Regions from separate parts of the Homo sapiens genome. Here all the other regions are linked to region 2. Evidence: promoter capture Hi-C in 16 types of primary human blood cells and fetal thymus (Javierre and others, 2016). All regions are on one chromosome and are shown on one strand. The core of a region is centred on a gene start or on the middle of the fragment in contact, and the rest is flanking DNA. Distances in the headings are between cores, read along the strand shown. Region 1 has its middle 110 kb from the start of HAPSTR1. Region 2 holds the start of GRIN2A (glutamate ionotropic receptor NMDA type subunit 2A). Region 3 has its middle 91 kb from the start of LINC02177. Region 4 holds the start of LOC105371075 (a long non-coding RNA gene). Region 5 has its middle 130 kb from the start of LINC02177. Region 6 has its middle 160 kb from the start of LINC01195. Region 7 has its middle 110 kb from the start of LINC02177.

Region 1 (3,165 bases), core at 132-2,631, 980 kb before region 2:
TGGAGTGCAGTGGCACAATCTTGGCTTACTACAACCTCCACCTCCCCGGTTCAAGTGATTCTCCTGCCTCAGCCTCCCAAGTAGCTGGGATTACAGGTGCCTACTACCACGCCCAGCTAATTTTTGTATTTTTAGTAGAGACTGGGTTTCACTGTGTTGGCCAGGCTGGTCTCGAACTCCTGACCTCAGGTGATCCACCTGCCTCGGCCTCCCAAAGTGCTGGGATTACAGGTGTGAGCTACCGTGCCCGGCCGGGATCCACAGTTTCTTGGGACAGCAAACCCTTGCCACCCAGAGGAAGTGGAAAGCTGGGGCTAAAACCGCTTGCCCCCCGACCACCTCCCTGGCCTTGCTCCACCAACCCCAGAGCACCTGAAGACACCTCCAGCAGACCACGAGGCCTCTTCTGCCAGGAGCACATCTGCCTGCTGGAACTCTCCTCACAATTCTATTTTTGCTCCCCTTGGCAGCTCTGTGGAAATTAAAAGGCTATTGGCAGTGACTAATGTTGCTAATTCTGATCAAACAATTTAAAATTCATCCTTTGCCATATCAGAGACCCGCTAGGGAACAGAATTAAGACATCATTTGTGGCAATTTCTGTGACAGTTGGTGGAAAACAGAAAAGACATTAAAATTGGTCTCAATTCAAACCACTGCTCATTAAATTGCCTCCTTGAAAATCCGCCATCTCGATCTATACACTAGCTCTCCGTCTGTTCCCAGCTTATTAACCCAGAGCAAGGACCTTGACAAGCCAGCAGCTGGATCCAAGATGCTGGGAACTTCCTGGGATGTCTGGGAGAGCACATCCTGACACCCTCTGCTCCCTCCCACCGGCGCCGCCTTTGAGCCTTCCTGCCTCTGCCCCAGGAGCGGATGTGCCTCACATTTCCAAGAGTTAAACTTCAGGAAGCCAAATATTAAAAAAAGAATCAAGCTTCCCAGTGTTACCCAAACTTGAGTCATTCGCTTACCACCTGTGTGATTTCTGCTGTATCTATATCCATGTTCTGTTTTTTTACTTGATATAAAGCCAACTCATTTTAAAATTAAATTAATAGACTATTTTAAACAGGAAACTTTGTCACTACTATAAATGGAAACCCAATGTCATAAAGAGGAAATAAATGCTAACGCTAAGCATAAAAATCAATACAGTGTTTTTAAAAAAGCGTTGGATGGTTTACATCCCTTAGGTTTTTTTCTACATAAGTCCTTCCTTCCTTCCTTCCTTCCTTCCTTCCTTCCTTCCTTCCTTCCTTCCCTCCCTCCCTCCTTCCTTCATTTTCCTTCCTTCTCTCCTTCCTTCCCTCCCTCCCTTTCCCTTCCCTTCCCCTTCCCCTTCTCCTTCCTTCCTTCCTCCTTCTTCCTTCTTTTCCTCTTTCTTTCCTTTCTTCCAATTGTAAAATATATGTAAAAATGGGCAAACATTCTGGGCATGATGGCTCATACTTTTAATCCCAGCACTTTGGAGGCCGAGGCGGGTGGATCATGAGGTCAGGTATTTGGGACCAGCCTGGCCAACATAGTGAAACCCTGTCTCTACTAAAAAAATACAAAAAATTAGCTGGTTGTGGTGGCGGGCACCTGTAATCCCAGCTACTAGGGAGGCTGAGGCAGGAGAATAGTTTGAACCTGGGAAGCGGAGGTTGCAGTGAGCTGAGATCGCACCACTGCATTCCAGCCTGGGAGAGAGTGTGAGACTCCGTCTCAAAAAAAAAAGGCAAACAACTAGAATGGAATTAAAGACAGATTTGCAAACCTTTCAACCATTATATAAATATTAAAAAGTTAAAAAATGAATTGCCAATTGAAAAATAAAAGCTTACATGTAAAAACAGCAAAGTGAAGACAGTGACAAAGGAGACAATGGTATTCCATTCCACTTGGGTACATTTGCTGGGGAAGACTCTTAGCCAGAGGCAAGGGCTCTGTAAGTTAAAAAGGATTAGGAAGGGTTCCAGTTCTTAAAGACAAACTCATCCAGGGAGACTTTCTCTTTGCATTAATTGGGAGGGTTGAAAACCAATAGACAGAGAGTGACCGTTTGACTGTGTGATGAGATGTTTTGCAATGCTGTGTTCAACTCGAATAATTTTATATGCCACGAGCACATTTTCTACACTTTGGAAAATACTGGTGTGATCTGGGAAGACAAACTCTTAGGAATCTTCTCCCTTCCCAACACCCCCTCCCTGTTTTACTGGAGTAAAACAAATCCCTGGAGTAAAATCCCTGTTTCCTCCAGGGATTTGACAATTATCTTAAAGCTGTATCAGTTTGAATGATCCACTATCTGCAGGTAGACCTTCCCCTCTTATTTGAATTCCTCTGCCTATTTAGGAAGTTCTCCCTAGGAATACTATGACTTTCTTTCCTTTCCTTTAAACACAATTTTAAAAAAATGTACAAATAGCCTGGGTGCCGTGGCTCCCACCTGTAATCTCAGCACTTCGGGAGGCTGAGGAGGGTGGATCACCTGAGGTCAGGACTTTGAGACCAGCCTGGCCAACATGGTAAAACCTCGTCTCTATTAAAAATACAAAAATTAGTCACATGTGGTGGCAGGTGCCTGTAATCCTAGCTACTCGGTGGGCCAAGGCAGGAGAATCGCCTGAACCTGGGAGGTGGGGGTTGTAGTAAGCTGAGATCGCGCCAGTGCACTCCAACCTGGGTGACAGAGTGAGACTTCATCTCAAAACATAATAAATAAAAAATGGAGAAATAATAATTGTAGATATTTTGGAGGAACAGTGTGATGTTTTGATATATGTATACATTGTGGAATGATTAAGTCAAGCTAATAGACATAGCCGTCTCTTCACATACTTAAACTTTTGTGCAACAGATGTCAAAAGCTCATTCCTCCTGTCTAACTGGAATTTTATACACTTCTGACTTTCGTGGCCATGGTAGGGCCTGAATCTGTCTCTAGGGCATAAAAGTGAGACAACCTGGGATCTTCAGAAGTGTCATGTCTGAGTTTCCTGAAATGAAGGAAAAGGTGTACAGCTGCTGTCTGCCATGAATGGCATCAAGGAGACCTAAGGATTAATCCAATAATGAGAGAAGGGGAGAGAGAGAGAGAGAGAGAGAAAGATGGGGTGGAGCTGAGAGAGACAGAGAGATTGGGGTGGAGGATGACATTACATTTCTATGTTC
Region 2 (3,187 bases), core at 336-2,835:
GATAGAGAGGACCAAGTTATCAACCCCGCCCCCTGCTGGCGCGGAGCGAACTACAGACCCCGCAGGGCGTGCGGAGGCGGCACCCAGACCCCGCGTCCCAGCTTGAGAGCTCAGCTAGTTGGCTGACCCCGCCCCCTACGAGCCCGTCGTGTGCACCACACACTTTGCTCTACGCCCAGCCCCAACTACAGACCCGGCTCCTCTCAGTCAGAGTACACCCCAAGTGCTTGGGAGTGAGGACGCTGCCTGGTGGGCCCAGGCTCCGCTGTGCCTGGGGAACTTGGGGCTCGCCCCACCTCGAGCCAAGGGGCCGTGGAGAGTCCTTCACCCCTACACGCGCGCGTGCACACACACGTGCACACACACACGCACACACACATGTTCACACACACACACCCTCTCTCACGCGCGCCGTGTGCAATGCTGAATTCTGGAGAGTAGGCGCGTCCCCCCGCGGGCCAGCGCGTAGGAGCTGGCAAAGAACGTGCGTAGGGGGAAAGGTAGGCTCCCAAGAAGCTCCCAGACGGACGTGGACTGTACAGCCCCTCCCTAGCCTTTCTACTGCGGGCGCTGTTGCCAAGTCCTAGGTGCACGTGGGCAGTGGGCCGCACACGCTCATAGGCACGCGCGCTTTTCTGCGCACTTCCTCAGACTGCTGTAGCGGTGCCCACGGCCAGCCGGAGTCCTCACATGTCCTCAGGTGGTGCACACGCATGAACTGCGGCAGGTGCACAGCCCTGCGTACCTGCAAATACCAGCACGGTCGTGCACGCGTGCCCTGACGCGCGCCTCTCGGGACGGACGCTGCTGGAGCCGGGGGAAGTTGAGGCGAACTCCAAGAGGCCTCGACGTTCCTGGGTAAGCGCCGCGGAGCGCGGAGCCGCAGCGCCCCCTGGTGCCCCTCCTGCACTTCGCCGCTGGGCTCCCTCCCGCTTTCCCTCTCCCTCTCTAGCCTGATCCCTCTCCCGCTCTCCCTCCGGTCGAGTCTCCCTCCTCCCCGGCCCAAGGAGCCCTGATCTCCCTCTGGGACGTACCTGTAGCCCGAGAAGGTCGAGGATGCAGTGGGGCGCGCTGCGCGCACGAGCATCTCGGCCGCCTCAGCAGCCACCGGGTTTAGCGGGTTCCCGCATGCTGCGGCCCCAGCGCGCTCCCCTGGCTGTCCCGCGCTGTCCGCATCGCCCCCACGGGGGGCGGCTATCCCAGCCGGAGGCTCTGCAGCAGGGCTCTAACGGGGCGGAGGAGAGAAGGAGAGGCAGGGTCAGCCCACCAACGAGGGGAGGGAGGGTTGAGGGGAAGGCTGCAGTCTGCAGTGCTCACAAGCCCCCCTATGCGCCCAGGGGGGCTAGACAAGAGGGGGGAAGCTGAAGCCCGATGCCCACGACGCCCCCAGTGCGGATCCTCAGCCCCTGTGGCTGATAGCGGGAGCTCCACTCCAGGGTGCACAGGAGAATGGGAGCCCCAGGTTGGCCACCCACGAGAAGCTAACTGGGCACCTCCACCCGCACCCCCTACCACCTCCCCAGCGCCGGCTGCTGGGAGTTGTGCGACCGGGAGCTGCTGAGCGAGGGAGGTAGGGAGAGAAAGAGGAGGTAACGAGGGTGGGGGGGCGCTGGCTGAGTTTGTGACGAGCCAGCAGTAGGAGAGGGGGAGGGAAGGACGCGGGCTCCCGCGGTCCCGGTTCCCCGAGGGAGGTGGATCTTTCCCACGCAGCGACCCTCTTGTGATCCTGCCGCTTCCTCCCTCTTCAGGCCTCCCACCTCCCCCCTTCCCAAGGGGGCCTCCCAGGCCCGGCGTCCCGCGCTAGCACTCACCGCAGCCTCTCTCCACATAGTTCTCAGCAGTGGCCGCTCCTGGTCATCTCCAGGGCTGATGGCTGCGGCCGCGATTCTCAGCGCTCACCCGGTCCCATGATCCGGCCAAGCCCTAGGAGCTCCCCTCCAAGATCCCTAGCTCCGCTTCCTGCCCCACTCCGGACGGCAACTGCCCGGTCCTCTGAGCGCGCCGGAGCACCCTCTCCGCAACCCAGCTCCGGGCTGGTGTGTTTGAGGGCGAGTGTGTGTGTGAGTGTGGGAGCGCGCTCGCGTGTGGCCGGGGATCCCCGCGGTCCCCGGCCGAGAGAGGCGCGGGCGGGGAAAGGCAGCTCCCTCCGGGCCCTTCGCTGCTGGGCCAGCTCCGCGCCGGGCGTTCGGCTCCCCACTTCCCAGCGGGAGTCCGGTGAGCGCCTGGACACCCTGGTTCACAGCACTGGCAAAGCCGGGTTCCCGGGGCGTCTTTCTGCTGCGGTCGCCTCCGAGGAAGAGGAGAAGGAAGGTAGCGGCGCCCTCCACACCAACTTAGGGACTTGTTCTCAGCCGGCGAGACGCAGTAGCCCCCGCTCAAGCCCAAGAGGCTTCGAGCTCCGGCGGGCGAAAGCGTCTCCTGCCCGCAGCCTCTCTCCTAGGTGGGTCGAGACAGACCCCGCAGTCCCTCGGCGGCGACGCGGAGCGCGGCCACCCGTTCCGAGAGCGCACGGCGGCAAATAAGGCCAGGATAGGTGGCTGGCTGGCGACGGGGGCGCCTGCGGCGGCGCGCGCTGCTGTCCGTGGTGTTGGAACCACGCTCTCCGCCCGCTCCCGGGCGTCTGGTGCGGCTGAAGAATCAATTATTCAGATCTCTGCTACCGCTTCCTCCTCCCCCAGTGCCTCGCGCTGGGTACAGTTATCCCCCTCCACGCACAGGCGCGCCGACACACACACACACACACACACACACACACACACACACACAGAGTCTGCTCCAATGCTTCTCCCTGTGCCTCGCCACCCCCGTACGGGAACCCACTCCTCTGATCTCAGGGAGCCAGAATCCTAAAAGCAAAGACATCTGCATTTCCCACATGCTTCCTTCTAAGTTCTACCAAACAGAAGCCTCCCTGAGGCTGCCACTTCTAAGCTACCAGAAGAGGTGAGCCAGAGAACATGGGACGGCCCGGGTGTGTGAGGGCTTGGTTGACTTGAATTCTAGCGACTGGGCATGAAATACATGGTCAAGGGAGGAGCTCTGCCCCTTTTATATTCACCTGTATCTCCAACGCCTGTCTGCCTTTCAGGCCTTGGAAGGAAAGGGGTCTTAAATTCTAAGAGGTTTTGCAATGACTGTTCCAACCCTGCCTCCTCCACTTAACCTAATGTCACCTGCTGCGGTCTAA
Region 3 (3,175 bases), core at 646-3,145, 920 kb before region 2:
CCATTTTCTTATTCAATTATCACATGAAATATAAGTATTTTTATAGACGAAGTACTAGAGTTAGAGAAGTGCAGTTAAGGCTGCACAGCTCATGGAGACAAATGAATCTGCATTTGAGATCCTAGATCCCCTCCCCCACCCTCTTTTTGAGACAGGATCTCACTCTGTCATCCAGGCTGGGGTGCAGTGGCGTGATCACAGCTCCCTGGAGTCTTGACCTCAGGGCTCAAGCAATCCTCCCACCTCGGCCTTCCTGGGACTATAGGAGCATGCCACCATGTCCGACTAATTTTAAATTTTTTTTTTTTTTTTGGTAGAGATAGTGTCTCACTATGTTGCCCAGGCTGGTCTTGAATTCCTGGGCTTAAGCAACCCTCCTGCGTCTGCCTCCAAAGGTTCAGGGATTACAGGCATGAGTCACTGCGTCTGGCCCCTAGATCTCTTTTAAAAATAATCCCTAACTCCAGTTTCCCAGCCCTCTCCAATATTAAGCAAACATTAAAAAAGAAAAACAACTTAGTTAAATTGAACGCAAGGAATCTGCAACTTAGCAGGCAGCATTTATCTGCATGCAGATTTCCCCTGATCGGCTCCCGCTATCATGGGAGAGATTCTAACCCTTGTTGGAGGACGCGTTCAAAGTTGTGTTAGTAAAAATTACTTTATGTAATGAACCCTTAGATCAATTCTTATTGAAATGAGCTGGAATTAGATTTTTGCTCTTCCCGTATGTAATGCTTTCAATTCAATGATGAATTACTGGAGTCAGCAGCTATCTGACATTGCGATGCCGTGCACAGCATGCTATGCCTTTCTTGTTTGCTAGCCCTTTGCGGAGGGAAAGCAGACCTATTGAAGTGCATTTTTTAATTTAGTGGGGCTGTTCGATAGAAGCTTTTTACTTTATTGAGGGAGAATTTGCCATTTTAACATTTAAATTCACTTGTTTTCACAATCTTTTTTGGGTCCTCGTGTGAATATTAATGATTATATGTACATGCAAATACATTATTTGTGTGACTTCGGGCAAGCCACATCACCTCTCTGTGTGTTTTCTGTTTTCTCATCTTTGAAAGGAGAGGGCTGGATCAGGTCTCTGTTTGCCAAAATTTTGTAGATCTGTGTTAAGAAAAAAAAATCAGAGGAATATTAGATTCAACAAAGTCAAGGTTTCTGCCTTTTCAATTCAAATTGTTTCTCTCTTTTATTTTTTCTTTTTAGGGACAGGGTCTTGGTGTGTCACTCAGGCTGGAGTGTAGTGGTGTGATCATAGCTCACTGCAGCCTCGATCTCCTGGGCTCAAGCAATCCTCCAGTCTCAGCCTTCCAAGTAGCTGGGACGACAGGCGTGCCACCACACCCAGCTACAAATTGTTTCTTTATTCTTTTCAGTGTTCCTGTCCCCAGCCTGTAAAGTAGGAGCTTAATCTAACACTTCTGCCTTCTCAAGGGATTATGGAAAAGACGCTTCAGCTCTGACCTCTTTATTCCTCATGCAAAGAAGAATGACTCATATCTCTAGAAAGATGGGGAGAAGTTATCATATCTTGGCCGTTTTTACCAGGGCTGGGGACACTTCATCCAACAGCTGACCTGGCCACCCACAGTCATTTCTCTCCACACTTGTTAGGGTGTGAGGCCAGCTGAGATCCTCTGTAGAGAAGTCTGAGGAAGCATCTGCAGTATGTATTGTAAAGTTATTTGACTATATGCAAATGTTCTTAGAATCATGTCTTCATGGAGAAGCAAATGCTTTATTATGTTGCAATGACTCTCTCTCCCTAATATATATTTTTTACTAAAAAGCCATTTTATTTGGTATTAATATGGCCACTCACCTTTATTTTGTTAGTATTTGGCTGATGTATTAGGTTGGTGAAAATGCAATTATGTTTGCACCAACCTAATATCTTTGTCTGTTCCTTTACTTGCTATATTAAAACCTTCCTATATTTTTACGTTTTAGCTTTTTTTTTTTTTTAACAGTAGATAGCTGGATTCCCTGCCCCGTCCCATCTAATTTGATAATCTCTTTTAACTGAGATGGTTATTTCCATTACATTTATTGTGATTATTGATCTATTTGGATTGTTTCTCCTGTTGTAACTTTTTTGAGGTTTCATTGGTACAGCATTTTTATATATATATATATATATATATATATATATATATATATATATATAATTTATCTTTTTTGGTCTATAAAAATTAAGTTTTTTTCTTATTACTTTTTTTTTTCTTTCCTGAGATGGAAGTTATAATCTCTGCTTTTACTCTTTAAATTATTATCTTTGAAATTTTACTAGGCACATGAGACTTTTAATGTTAGTATCTTTTACTTTTAATGTCAGTTTAACTTTTAATGCAGTATCCTTTTTTTTTTTTTTTAATTTTAGAGGCTGTCCCTCAGGCTGGAGTGCCATGGCATGATCATAGTTCACTGCAGCCTCAAACTTCAGGGCTCTAGGCAGCCTCCTACCTCGGCCTCATGAGTATTTTGGATTACAGGCATGCACCTCCACAACCGGATAATTTATTTTTTATTTTTATTTTCTGGAGACAGGGCCTCACTGTGTTGCCCAGGCTGTAATGTTGGTATCTTGACTGCCATCACCTTCCCACCATGCCTGATGATATGAAGATCTCAGACTACTTTAACCCTAGCCATTTCTTTCCTAACTGACACATTCTCATTGCTGAGGACTTCAGTTCTTTTTATTAAGCCTACTTGTTAGACAGCTATATTTTATGAATACAGTGGTTCTTTAGATTAACCTACGTGTTTTATCCTTTTTCCCCTTTGCTAATCTTCTTGAATCTCAGGCCTTCTTATTTGGGTTCATTTTCATTCTCTCTCAACTACATCCTTTAGAAATTATTTTAGTTGGCCTATTGGTTAAAGCTTTATTTTTATAAGTCTGAAAATGTCCTTATTTTGCTCTTATTCTTGAGATACAGTTTTGTTAGATCTGCTATTCTAGCTTGACAGTTCTCTTTTTCTCAACCCGATGAAGAGAGAATTTTGATGACTCTTGTCGCTACCGTTAAGAAAAGTCCAGTTGTTGATGGTCTAATTGTTACATCTGTGCTGAGGGTTGTTGCTGGTTTCTTCCATCTGCTGCTGGTTTAAGACTTCCTATTTGTCTTTGATGTTCTATAGCTTTACTACATTGTAT
Region 4 (2,805 bases), core at 262-2,761, 890 kb before region 2:
CCACCAATACCTAATGTATTGAGAGTTTTTAGCATGAAGGGTTGTTGAATTTTGTCAAAGGCCTTTTCTGCATCTATTGAGATAATCATGTGGTTTTTGTCTTTGGTTCTGTTTATATGCTGGATTACATTTATTGATTTGCGTGTATTGAACCAGCCTTGCATCCCAGGGATGAAGCCCACTTGAAGCAGAACTGAAGGAAATAGAGACACAAAAAACCCTTCAAAAAAATTAATGAATCCAGGAGGTGGTTTTTTGAAAGGATCAACAAAATTGATAGACCGCTAGCAAGACTAATAAAGAAAAAAAGAGAGAAGAATCAAATAGATGCAGTAAAAAATGATAAAGGGGATATCAGCACCGATCCCACAGAAATACAAACTACCATCAGAGAATACTACAAACACCTCTACGCAAATAAACTAGAAAATCTAGAAGAAATGGATGAATTCCTTGACACATACACTCTCCCAAGACTAAACCAGGAAGAAGTTGAATCTCTGAATAGACCAATAACAGGAGCTGAAATTGTGGCAATAATCAATAGCTTACCAACCAAAAAGAGTCCAGGACCAGATGGATTCACAGCCGAATTCTACCAGAGGTACAAGGAGGAACTGGTACCATTCCTTCTGAAACTATTCCAATCAATAGAAAAAGAGGGAATCTTCCCTAACTCATTTTATGAGGCCAGCATCATTCTGATACCAAAGCCGGGCAGAGACACAACCAAAAAAGAGAATTTTAGACCAATATCCTTGATGAACATTGATGCAAAAATCCTCAATAAAATACTGGCAAACCGAATTCAGCAGCACATCAAAAAGCTTATCCACCTGACACCTGTCTTATTGCCCGCTTCTTGCCTGTGCAGTCTTGTGTACCATCAACATCTGGTTTGTTCCACTTTACAAATGCACACAGCAGTGAAGGCTGCTACTGGCACTGGGATTCTTTGCATCCACCTCAATAGCTGAAGCCTCCTTGGGGCCCTTGGGTGATGTAACAAGGTAAGAATTCCATCTGGTTTGCAGAATCTTAGGAAACTTACTGTCCTCTCAATGCCACCCAGTAGCACCAGGGGGATAGGCAATGCCTTCTGCTGATTGAGACATCTTTCTTAAATCTCTCCCAACACCTAACCAACCAACCATCATCACAAATGATGGAGGATTAGCAGAAAGGAGAGGGTTGGGCATGATGGCGCATACCTGTAACCAAGAAATTTGCCAGGCTGAGGTGGAAGGATCGCTTGAGGCTAGGAGTTTGAGACCAGCCTGGGCAACATGGTGAGACATTGTCTCTACAATAAATAAATAAATAAATTTTTTTTTTGAGACAGAGTCTCACTCTGTTGCCCAGGCTGGAGTGCAGTGGTGCATTCTCGGCTCACTGCATCCTCTGTCTCTTGGGTTCAAGAGATTCTCCTGCCTCAGCCTCCTGAGTAGCTGGGATTACATGCGTGTGCCACCATACCCAGCTGACTTTTCTAGTTTTAGTAGAAACGGGGTCTCACCATGTTGGCCAGGCTGGTGTCGAACTCCTGACCTCTAATGATCCACCCGCCTCAGCCTCCCAAAGTGCTGGGATTACAGGTGTGAGCCACTGTGCCTGGTCTACAGGAAATAATTAAAAAAAAATTAACTAGGTATGGTGGCATGTGTCTGTAGTCCTAGCTACTCAGGAGAATCACTTGAGCCTGGAAGTTTGAAGCTGCAAGTGAGCTATGATTGTGTTACTGCACTGCAGTCTGGGTGACAGAGCCAGATCCTGTCTCTAAAAAAAAATAATAAAAAATAAATAAAAAAAAAAATGAGGGGAAAAGCAAATATCCAGATGATTCCCTCCACCCCCAAAACAAACTGATTTGTCCTTAAGAATCTTATTTTATTTTTAAACACTTTGGGATTTTAAAAATAGAATTCCCCTGATGATTCTCTCACTTAAAGACTTGCATTTAGATCAAGTAACTTCAAGTGTCCAGGCACCAGAAATACTGCTCAGAACCATATATTTCCCCTCCAACATGCAGCATAGGTGTCAGTCTCATAAATAGGGGGAATGCCAGATGTGCCCAAGTATGGACTTAGCCAGTACAAAAGCGCAAATATATCGGACACGCAGACTTAGACAGGTTTGCTACATAACCAGAGAGATCACTGGATTTACTCAGTTCCAAATGAGCAGCTCCCCTTTTAAGCTTCTTCAAGCTTGGCATCTGTGGGACTTTGTAAATCCCCAGCAGAGCTCAGGGGAAGTGGTCCTGAATTGTTTAACAGCCACAGCAATTACTTTGTTTTATACACGACATTCTTACCTCATCCATCTGGGAGGACAACAGGTGGAGCAACTAAAAAAAAAATTGTGTGAGTGCTTGAGTGGCTCCAAGTTGAATATTAAACAGAAACCCTCAGTGCCCCACGATTCTGGAGATTGGTGTGCATTTGTGATATACAACAGAAGTCAAATCAATATTCAACCAGAGAAACAAATCAGGAGTGAACAGTTTCATACTTAGTCAAGTGTGCTGAGCTCTCCAAGGATGTAGAAAAGAAAGATTTCCTCGGTCCTCTGTGCATGCCCCAAAGGACATCTAAAATCTTCCCAAGGTTAACACCAGAATAAAAGAGACCTTTGGCAATTGTGATATTGTGAGAATTTCCATTCGATAAAGATAATGGAATTTTTAAAGTACTTCTTGGTTGCTATTAGGTCCATGCTGGGAAAATGATGGAAAAAATCCAGTAAAAATATTTTTTTAATATTAGTGGGAAATAATATAGAGAAAAAGAAAATCCCCCGCTA
Region 5 (3,039 bases), core at 74-2,573, 960 kb before region 2:
GCACTGGTGTCTGCCTAACTCTTCTTGGTTATCCAGTCTCACCTCTGGTGTCAGCATCTGCAGGGAGCCTGTCTGGCTTCTCTATCCTATAGACTCTCTGTGCACCTCCCCCATCCACTCTATGATAGGCCATAATCCCTGCTAATTGTAAGTGCTCCTTAACCTGCCTGTCTTGCCCTCTGGGCTATAGGCTCCTACAGGGCACTGGCTGTGTCTTATTTAGCTCCATGCAGCAGAAGGTGAAATCAGAATGATTCTAAGCATGAGAAGGATTTGATGTGTTGGCCCTGAGATGGAGAGGCTCATAGGCAAGGACTTGAGAAAGTACCCTAGGAGATACAGACTGCAAGGATATGGGAACCTCAGTCCTACAACCAAAGGAACTGAATTATAAAAAAAAGAAGGGGAAAACTGTGGGATATAATGAGGTTTCTCTTCAAAGAGTCTGGTCAATCCTTTATTCTTTAATTCTAGTACCGCCCCCCGCCCTTTCCCTTTTCTCCTCTTTCTTCGTTTCTGCCTTTGTTATGTGCCCAGACATGCTACAGTACCAGGTGTTATCAATACCAACTCACATTCCTTTCCTTATTTGAAAAAAAGACTAGCTCTCTAGCTCATTACAGACACCCCTTCCCCTTTCCCCTCTCTCTTACGTGCCCATCTTATCTAAAGAAAGTTCAAATGTTTAGCCAACCAGAACTAGTTTAGATTGTGCGGCCCGACTCCAGCCAATGGGGAAAGGGCACACAGGCAGGACTTGCGTCAGGAATAATGGCTCTCGTTCCCCTTTGTTCAGTTGTGCTCTCATGGTGACTGGCCAAGGTGAAGCACCCATCTAAACAAAAGTAAAATTACTTTACTGAAAATCCTTTGAGTGTTCAATTTCCTTAGGATTTTGAACATTATTTCCATCACATGCTAGAATACATGCCAACTAGAATGCAATGTTCTTGTCAGACTTCCTGGGTTTAAATCTCAGTTCTACCGGTTACTAGCTCTGTAACTCAAGGCAAGTGCCTTATCCTCAGTAAGCCTCAGCTTCCTCATCTGTAAAATGGGAATAATTTTAGTACCTACCATATGGGGTTGTTGAGGGCTTGAAATGAGTGTGCATGTAAAGTACTTATAAGAGTACCTGGCACATAGTAAATGCTCAATAAATGAATGCTAGTTGTGATTGCTGCTGTCATTATTCTTTAATTACTATTACTTCTACTTGGCATCAAGTATTGTTGAAAATCCCCAAGCTTGGAAAAGTTTGTCTGTTTGGTTTTTTTTACTTGTTTGTATTCCGCCCGCCCCCAAACAGGCAAATGCCACACCTAGCATTGTTAAAATAACTTTAAAGAAACAAATCATAGTTAGGTTCTGCAATCTTGTCCCTCGCTGATGCCAAATGAAAGCTTCAGAGAAGATAAAAGGATTGCCTCTTTTGAAGCAGGGCTATTACTTCTATCCTTTAAAGTGATGAAATTATAAATGATCAAAGGAGAATGGATGGCAATGGAGGAAGGTTTCATTCACGTATCATTGTTCTGCAGGCACTGAGGGCCTGGGGAAGGGACAGCCACACTTTCACATGCTGAGATGGAGGAAATTGTGAGTAGGACAAATGAACTAATGGGTGGAAATCAGTTTGCATACTGTCTGGCACAAAGCAAACGCCTAGTAAACGTTAGCTATTACACAGCATGCAGAATAGAGCAGTCCCTGCCTGGGGTAACTGTGTCGAATATCTGTCGTGTGCTAAATGTTAGTCTTCCGAAAAGATATGTCCACCCAGAACCAGTGGATGGGACTTTATTTGGAGAAAGGGGCTTTACAGATGTAGTTAGATTAGGAATCTCAAGATGAGATCATCCTGGATTATCTGGGTAGGCCCTAAATCCAATGACTAGTGTCCTTATAAAAAGTTTAGAAGATGCAGAGGAGAACACCAGGTGATGATGGGGTGATGATAGATGCAGGGATCAGAGTGCGGGGCCTACATGTCAAGGAGCACCCAGGACTGTGGCAATCCCCAGAAGCTGCAGAGAGGCGAGAGACACATGCTCCCCCTAGAGCTTGCAGAAGGAACCAACCCTGGGAACACATTGATTTCTGGCTTCTGGCGTCCAGAACTGTGAGAGAATACTTTTTTTCCTCCCTTCCTTCCTTCCTTCCGTCCTTCCTTCCTTCTTCTTTCCTTCCTTCCTTTCTCTTTCTTTCCTTCCTTCCTTCTCTCTTTCCTTTCCTTTCCTTTTCATTTCTTTTTCTCTTTCTTTCTTTTCTCTCTCCTTGCCCCCTTCCTTGCCTGCTTTCTTTCTTTTCTTTTTCTTTCTTCTTTATTTCCCTTTCTTTCTTTTCTTTCTTTCTTTTCTTTTCTCTTTCTTTCTTTTTTCTTTCTTTCTTTTCCTTCCTTCCCTCCTTCCTTCCTTCCTTCCCTCCCTCCCTTCCCTTCCTTCCCTCTCCCTTCCTTTCCGTTTTCCTTCCTTCCTTCCTTCCCTTCCCTTCTCCTTCCTTCCTTCCCTTCCCTTCTCCTTCCTTCCTTCCCTTCCCTTCTCCTTCCTTCTTTCCTTCCTTCCTTCCTTCCTTCCTTCCTTCCCTCCTTCCCTCCCTTCCCTTCCTTCCTTCCCTCCCTTCCCTTCCTTCCTTCCCTCCCTTCCCTTTTCCTTCCTTCCCTCCCCTCCCCTCCCTTCCCTTCCTTTCTTCCTGACAGGGTCTGGCTCTGTTGTCCAGGCTGGAGTACAGTGGTGTCTTCACAGCTTACTGCAGCCTCTCCCTCCCAGGCTCAAGCAATCCTCCCACCTCATCCTTCCCAGGAGCTGGGACTATAGGCGCACACCACCACACCTGGGTAATTTTTTTTTTTTTTGGTAGAGACAGGGTCTCTCCATGTCATCTGGGCTGATCTCAATATCCTGGGCTTCAGTGATTGGGTCTCAAGTGGTTGGCCCACCTTGGCATCCCAAAGTGCTGGGATTACAGGTATAAGCCGCTGAGCCTGGCCGAGAGAATAAATTTCTGTTGGTTTGTTGTAAGCCACCAGTTTCTGGAAAT
Region 6 (3,054 bases), core at 348-2,847, 560 kb before region 2:
AGGGAATACTGTAGGATTCCAGGGAAAGCTGGAGGATGAGCAGATTTGGAGGAGGTGGGAGGAATGTTCAGTTAGGTTTTGGACATGTTGAACTTGAGATGCTTTCTAGATAACCTTGTAGGGGGCCCAAGAGACAGCTAGCATAAGGATCTAGAGCTCCCAAGAGTGGGTGGGCAAAAGATGCATATGGAAATAGAAAATAAGCCACGGGATTGGGTGAGAGATCCGAAAGAATGTGCTCAGTGTAATAACAATAAGAAGAATAGAACTATTTCCCAAGGAAAACCAACATTAAGGGCTAGGGAGATGAATCAGAAAGTCAGCGGAGCTTTGGAAAGGATATTAAAATGATGGGCACCTACAGGGTCCTGAAAGCCTTGAGAAGAGAAGATGTCAAAGAAGGAATGAGTGATTGAGTATAATTGCCCTAAGAAGTTAAGTACAATAGAGATTGAAAAGTTGTATTAGATTTTCTTTTTATTGTGGTAAAATACACATAGCAAGACATTTATCATTTTAGCCATTTTAAAGAGTACAATTCAGTGGCATTAAGTATATTCATGATGTTGTGCAACCCTCACCACTATCGTGTTCCAGAACATTTTTATCACCCTAAGCAGAATTCTGTACCCATTAAGCAGTTACTCCTAATTCTCCTCTCTCCCTAGGCCCTTCCAACCACTCATCTGCTTTCTGTCTCTACAAATTCACCTATTCTGGAAAATTCATATGAATGAAATTATGCAATATGTGGTTTTCCATTATATTTCATAACAAGGAAAATTAAATCTAATTCTAAATAACTTGACTCATTACTATATTTGTGAAGTCAAGAACTTCCATTGGGGAAGGCAATGTGATATCCTGGGCTAGTCTCAGAGGAACTATTTTGACCCAAGCTTGTATTGATCATGGAAATAACAAGGAGGCTGTCAGTGGGGAATGTTAACAAATCTCAAGTTTAGTTACAGATAGCAAAAAAAAAAAAAAAAAAAAAAAAAGAGAGAGAGAGAGAGACAGAGAGAGACAATTTATAACTTTCTCTCAGACTCCATCTTCCCTAGGGGATTAGCAGCTGACTTAAGGCAGAAGCATTTAACTGCCCAAGTATCTCAGTACACCTTCTTTTTGTTCCTCCCATTCATGGAGCTAATTGCTTCAGGACATCTTCATATGGGTCCTTCTTGTCTCTAACCTCTTATTTCTCTGCAGGAATCTAGAATCCCCTCAGGTTGAAAAAGCTAGAAAATGTAAGATCTTTAAAGTCAGCGATGCAGGTGTTGGACCAGGAAAGAAGAAAAATTGAGTGACCCATGGAGATTCTGAGCACCAAACAAATGTATCCTAAAACAGTGTTTCTTAAGCTATCTTTGGAAAAGGAGCATTTTCCTCTAATACTTCACAGACCAATACTTGCAAAAAAATTTACAAAACAGTGAATTACTAGAAAAATGAAATCAAGACAAGTCCTTTTTTTAGATTTATTAGACTCAAAATTATTTTGCGAAATTGCCATAAAAGCTTTTAAGCACTGGCTCTCAATTTCTGCGGTCACCTCATTGTGGTGCAATATTTTATGTTTAATGTCTTAATGACTTCAACATTCTAGGACTGTATGAAATACAGTTATCCAAGCCTACCTTCTTGATATAACCTGGATTTCCATGATCAGTACAAGCTTGGGTCAAAATAGTTCCTCTGAGACTAGCCCAAGACATCACATTGCTTTCCCGGATGGAAGTTCTTGACTTCACAAATATAGTAACAAGCCAAGTTATTTAGAATTAGATTTAATTTTCTCTGTTTAAGGTCACAACAGGACCAGAAGAGTTTTTCTGGGGGGAGGATCCCTGAACTATAGAAAATGACGGAATTTCACAGAAGTAATGGAGCAGAAGCCAGATTATCAGAAGTAGGTGAGTGAACAGGTGTGGGAAATTACAGACCCTGAGATTGCTACAGGCTACCATCGGGCAATAAGAGAAGAGACAAATGAGATGTTCAGGGAATTTGACATTTTATTTTTGTTTGCTTACTTGTTTTGTTTATTTTGGTATTCCTGTTTTAAGATGGGAGAGACTTGAACCTTGCTTTTAAAATGATACAATGGACCAAAAAAGAGAGAGAGAGAGAAGCTTAAGGGAAAGAAGAAAGGGTTACTAGTGGATGCAGGTGGGAGATAATGAGATTCTGAGCATAGGGATGTGTGTTAGTCCATTTTCACACTGCTGTAAAGAACTACCTGAGACTGGGTAATTTATGAAGAAAAGAGGCTTAATTGACTCACAGTTCTGCAGGCTTAACAGAAAACATGACTGGGAGGCCTCAGGAAACTTACAACCATGGGAGGCAAAGGGGAACAAGGACCTTCTTCACATGGTGGAAGGAGAAAGAGACAGGGGAAGTGCCACACTTTTAAACCATCAAATGTCGTGAGAACTCACTCACTATCATGAGAACAGCAAGGGGAAAATCTGCCCCTCCCATCACCTCCCTCCAAGCCCCTCCGCCAATTTGACATGAGATTTGACGTGAGATTTGGGTAGGGACACAAATCCAAACCATATCATATATTGGAAGATAGATAAGACAGGAGGAGGAAAGGATGCAGAAGTGCACCAGTCGGGGATCAGTCGGGAGCTAGGCACTTTATGTTGGAACCTGAAGTTCATAGCAGAAGAAATAAGAAAGGGAAGATGGGTGTAAAGTAGAGGAAATAAAAAACAAGCTGGAACCCAAAGCTGTGAGTGGAGCCACACTCCAGACGGAGGACAGATGGAGACTTGCATTAGGGTTTTTGTTTTTTGTTTGTTTGTTTTGGTCCCTGATATTAATGATATGAGTGTCCTGCAAAAGCCAGGGGCCCTTAGGCAAACATAGGCACCTGACCCAAGAGCCAAAGGCAATGAAAGAGGATTCAGGGGAAGGAACTGTTGCAAGTCCAGCTGCTGCCACTTGCCAGGACAAGTCAACAGATCAACAACATGTGTGAGCCGCATGACGGCCCATGCTCCAGCTCTTCCTTCAGGTCTCTCCTGAGGCCCAACTGGGAGC
Region 7 (3,163 bases), core at 348-2,847, 940 kb before region 2:
CTCCTGTCTCAGCCTCCCAAGTAGCTGGGATTACAGGCATGTGCCACCAAGCCTTGCTAATTTTTGTATTTTTAGTAGAGATGGGGTTTCACCATGTTGGCCAGGCTGGTCTCGAACTCCTGACCTCAAGTGATCTACCCGCCTTGGCCTCCCAGAGTGCTGAGATTACAGGCATGAGCCACCTCGCCTGGCCAAAGGTAGACTTTAAATGTCTGATTGTCCTGGATTCATTTTTGGTAGGTAGAAACACAAAGGAAACTCTAGCAGCAGGCCGGGATGACCTGCTCTGTTTTATTCTCGCACATAATTAGGATATTTTTTATCATCTCAATTTAAGGCAGCTTCAACCTTAGGTTTGTCTCTAATAGGAAAGAAAATAATCCGGTATTGTGGCATTTCATGGAGGTCACTTTATCAGACAGCAGCTGTGCTGGCCTTTCTGCTCCGAATTCTCCTTTCTTTGCTAACTGTACATCCATTTCCTGTAGGGGAATCATCCTCTGCCTCTTTTAATTCTTGTGACTCACGTGGGGCAGAACCAGGCTTCAGGCGAGGGCATGCACCTGTCAATTCCTACTTCTGGTAATTCAATTAACAGTCACCTTCATGTACCACTACTACTGTGTGCTAGTCACTATTGCAATCACTTTATAGATGCATTTTTTTCCTTTTTGAGGTGGAGTTTTGCTCTTGTTGTCCAGGCTGGAGTGTAATGACATGATCTTGGTTCATTGCAACCTCTGCCTCCTGGGTTCAAGCGATTCTCTGGCCTCAGCCTCCTGAGTAGCTGGGACTACAGGCACACATCACCACGCCCAGCTAATTTTTGTATTTTTAGTAGAGATGGGGTTTCATGATGTTGGTCAGGCTGGTCTCGAACTCCTGACCTCAGGTGATCCGCCTGCGTCGGCCTCCCAAAGTGCTGGGGTTACAGGAGTGAGCCACCGCGCCCGGCCCATAAATGCATATTAATCCGTTTAATCCTCATCCCAATCCTTTGAGGGAAATCTAATTCTTACATCTATTTTATAGATGGAACAATGGAGGAAGGGTTAAGGTTACTGTCCAGAGTCACCAGCAGGTGAGTGATGGAGCAGGGATTTGAAGTCACATAGTATTGTGGCAAGCCAGGTCTCCCTAACAGCTGAACTGGTAGGCCTCCATAACAACTGTTTCAGCACTGACTGAGTGGTGAAGTTAAATATTAAGAGCTGAGAGGGCCAGTGCCCTTATACAAAGGCTGGAATGTAACAAAAGCCCCCCAAGAGTTTTGCCTAGGCCTTTCCTGGGCCTTGAAACATGACAAGATAACGAAGGAATTCTTAACAGGACCCATTTGGGATTAAACAAGTTTATTGGGAGGTCTGAAGAAACTCCCCAGGCTTCGACAAACAAGTTTATTGGGGTTCTGAAGGGACTCCCCAAACCTTCATGATTTAGCAGAAGACAAGATAAGGGTAATCTCCCCAGCACCTGGACCCATTTAGATTAAGTAAATTTAATGAGACTCCAGAGGAAGTTCTTCAGGACTTAGCTCTTAGTTACAGATGAGAAGTTAATCACTTATGTCTTCAGATGAATGCACGCTTACACGTAGACATATAGCTTAGAAGGTATATGAGCTCTGGAAAACTTTGTAATTTTGAGTTGGTCTGGTGTTATTTTCCAGGCCTTCTCCCTGTACCTGGTTACAGAAATAAAAACTGTCTTCCTCCCCAGTTCATCTGTATCTGGTTATTGGGCGGTGAGAGTAAGCAGCCTGACCCTCGGTTTGGTCCAGGAACAGTATGGCCTTTGTTGGGTTGCATCTCAGTTAGTTCTGGCAAGAGAGAAGAGAGCTAAACCAGGCCCACAATTCTTAATTCCAAGTCTTTAAACTCTCAGGGAGGATTTCTCTTTCCAGAGAAACTGCTGGCAGTTCCAGTGATGAAAGCTGCAGGCTTCCAAGGCCACAATGAGGAGCTTGGGATGGTTATCATCCAGAGGAGGGATGGCAACAGAAATCAAACTCTCATGATGCTCTTGGCACCTCTGTTCTCAGCTCAGGTGTTAAGATCTGCCGCTGGGCCTCCCACACATGGGAGTGGAAAAGTGCCCTTTGTTACCCAAGGGAGCTTGAGTTGGGTTTTCCATTCTTTGCATCTAGAAGAAATGCATGTTGGTTTTTGACCTTGATGACTTTTCACGGAAGGACTTGAGAAAGAGCTCCTTTTGGCATTCTGGAAAAAAGTGATGCTCCTGGACTCTCTGATACCATGTTTCTGAGGGCACTGTAGTTGGTGCATGAAAGAGTGTGGATGTTGGAGGCAGACAGTTATGGGTTTGATTTTCAGTTAGGTGACCCTGGGCGAGTCACTTAAGCTCTCTGAATCCTGGAGAAATGGCAAAACTGTCTTTATGGATGGTGGGTGAGGATTTGATAACACATACAAAAGCTCCTTGAGCATAGTAGGGGCGTCATTCTTGAATTCCTCCATGGTCTCCATCCCCAGGGGCTCTGTCTGCTTTATTTGCTGTATTAACTGAAGTTCTACAGAGAAACAGAACCAGTAGTGGGGTGTATGTGTGTGTGTGTGTGTGCGTGCACACGTGTGTATTTTAAGGCATTGGCTCATATGATTGTAGGGGTTGGAAAGTCTGAAGTCTGTAAGGCAGGCTGACAGGCTAGAAGTTCAGGTAAGAGTTGATGTTGCAGTCTTGAATCTGAAATTCATGGCACAAGTCAGGCGGGCTGGAAATGCAGGCAGTTTATCTATGTTGCTCCTTCCTCCTCTCCTTCTCCTTCTCTTTTCCTTTCCTCTTTTCTTTTCTTTTGAGATGGAGTTTTGCCCTGTCACCCAGGCTGGAGTTCAGTGGCATGATCTCAGTTCACTGCAACCTCTGCCTCCTGGATTAGAGTGATTCTCCTGCCTCACCCTTCTGAGTAGCTTGGATTAGAGGTGCCCCCCACCACGCCCAGCTAATTTTTGTATTTTTTGTAGAGACGGGGTTTTGTCATGTTGCCCAGGCTGGTCTTGAACTCCTGGCCTCAAGTGATGCACCCGCTTTGGCCTCCCAAAGTGCTGGGATTAGAGGCATGAGCCAGCGTGCCCGGCCCTGTGTTGCAGTGTTTATTTTTCTTGGGGAAACTTCAGTTTTGCTTTTTTTTTTTTTTTTTTTGTAG

What was found. The method cuts DNA at HindIII sites, captures the fragments that hold promoters and counts their contacts. A CHiCAGO score of 5 or more calls a contact.
Region 1: a fragment that was not itself captured here is called in contact with the fragment with the promoter of GRIN2A in region 2 in 1 of 17 cell types (endothelial precursors); the score reaches 5.5 in endothelial precursors.
Region 3: a contact is called between a fragment that was not itself captured here and the fragment with the promoter of GRIN2A in region 2, in 5 of 17 cell types (endothelial precursors, M2 macrophages, M0 macrophages and 2 more). The highest score is 10.8, in endothelial precursors.
Region 4: a contact is called between a fragment that was not itself captured here and the fragment with the promoter of GRIN2A in region 2, in 4 of 17 cell types (endothelial precursors, M2 macrophages, erythroblasts and 1 more). The highest score is 8.7, in endothelial precursors.
Region 5: a fragment that was not itself captured here is called in contact with the fragment with the promoter of GRIN2A in region 2 in 4 of 17 cell types (M1 macrophages, M2 macrophages, endothelial precursors and 1 more); the score reaches 11.9 in M1 macrophages.
Region 6: a fragment that was not itself captured here is called in contact with the fragment with the promoter of GRIN2A in region 2 in 1 of 17 cell types (endothelial precursors); the score reaches 5.6 in endothelial precursors.
Region 7: a contact is called between a fragment that was not itself captured here and the fragment with the promoter of GRIN2A in region 2, in 1 of 17 cell types (M0 macrophages). The highest score is 5.8, in M0 macrophages.

The regions. Positions count from the first base shown.
Region 1 is chr16:9,198,680-9,201,844 of GRCh38, forward strand. No RefSeq gene overlaps it. Among named protein-coding and RNA genes, the nearest start is that of HAPSTR1, 110 kb to the left of the region's middle. The HindIII fragment of the contact is 887 bases long and covers 939-1,825 here.
Region 2 is chr16:10,180,843-10,184,029 of GRCh38, forward strand. It overlaps GRIN2A (glutamate ionotropic receptor NMDA type subunit 2A), which reads right to left and starts at 1,586. Exons shown (of 13, transcript NM_001134407.3): 1 at 1,035-1,586. RefSeq lists silencers at 674-783, 794-853. The HindIII fragment of the contact is 14,826 bases long and covers 1-3,187 here.
Region 3 is chr16:9,262,784-9,265,958 of GRCh38, forward strand. No RefSeq gene overlaps it. Among named protein-coding and RNA genes, the nearest start is that of LINC02177, 91 kb to the right of the region's middle. The HindIII fragment of the contact is 2,007 bases long and covers 893-2,899 here.
Region 4 is chr16:9,294,050-9,296,854 of GRCh38, forward strand. LOC105371075 (a long non-coding RNA gene) reads left to right here and starts at 763. Exons shown (of 2, transcript XR_933060.2): 1 at 763-1,010. The HindIII fragment of the contact is 1,373 bases long and covers 826-2,198 here.
Region 5 is chr16:9,223,656-9,226,694 of GRCh38, forward strand. No RefSeq gene overlaps it. Among named protein-coding and RNA genes, the nearest start is that of LINC02177, 130 kb to the right of the region's middle. The HindIII fragment of the contact is 156 bases long and covers 1,246-1,401 here.
Region 6 is chr16:9,616,840-9,619,893 of GRCh38, forward strand. No RefSeq gene overlaps it. Among named protein-coding and RNA genes, the nearest start is that of LINC01195, 160 kb to the left of the region's middle. The HindIII fragment of the contact is 157 bases long and covers 1,520-1,676 here.
Region 7 is chr16:9,243,044-9,246,206 of GRCh38, forward strand. No RefSeq gene overlaps it. Among named protein-coding and RNA genes, the nearest start is that of LINC02177, 110 kb to the right of the region's middle. The HindIII fragment of the contact is 3,560 bases long and covers 1-3,163 here.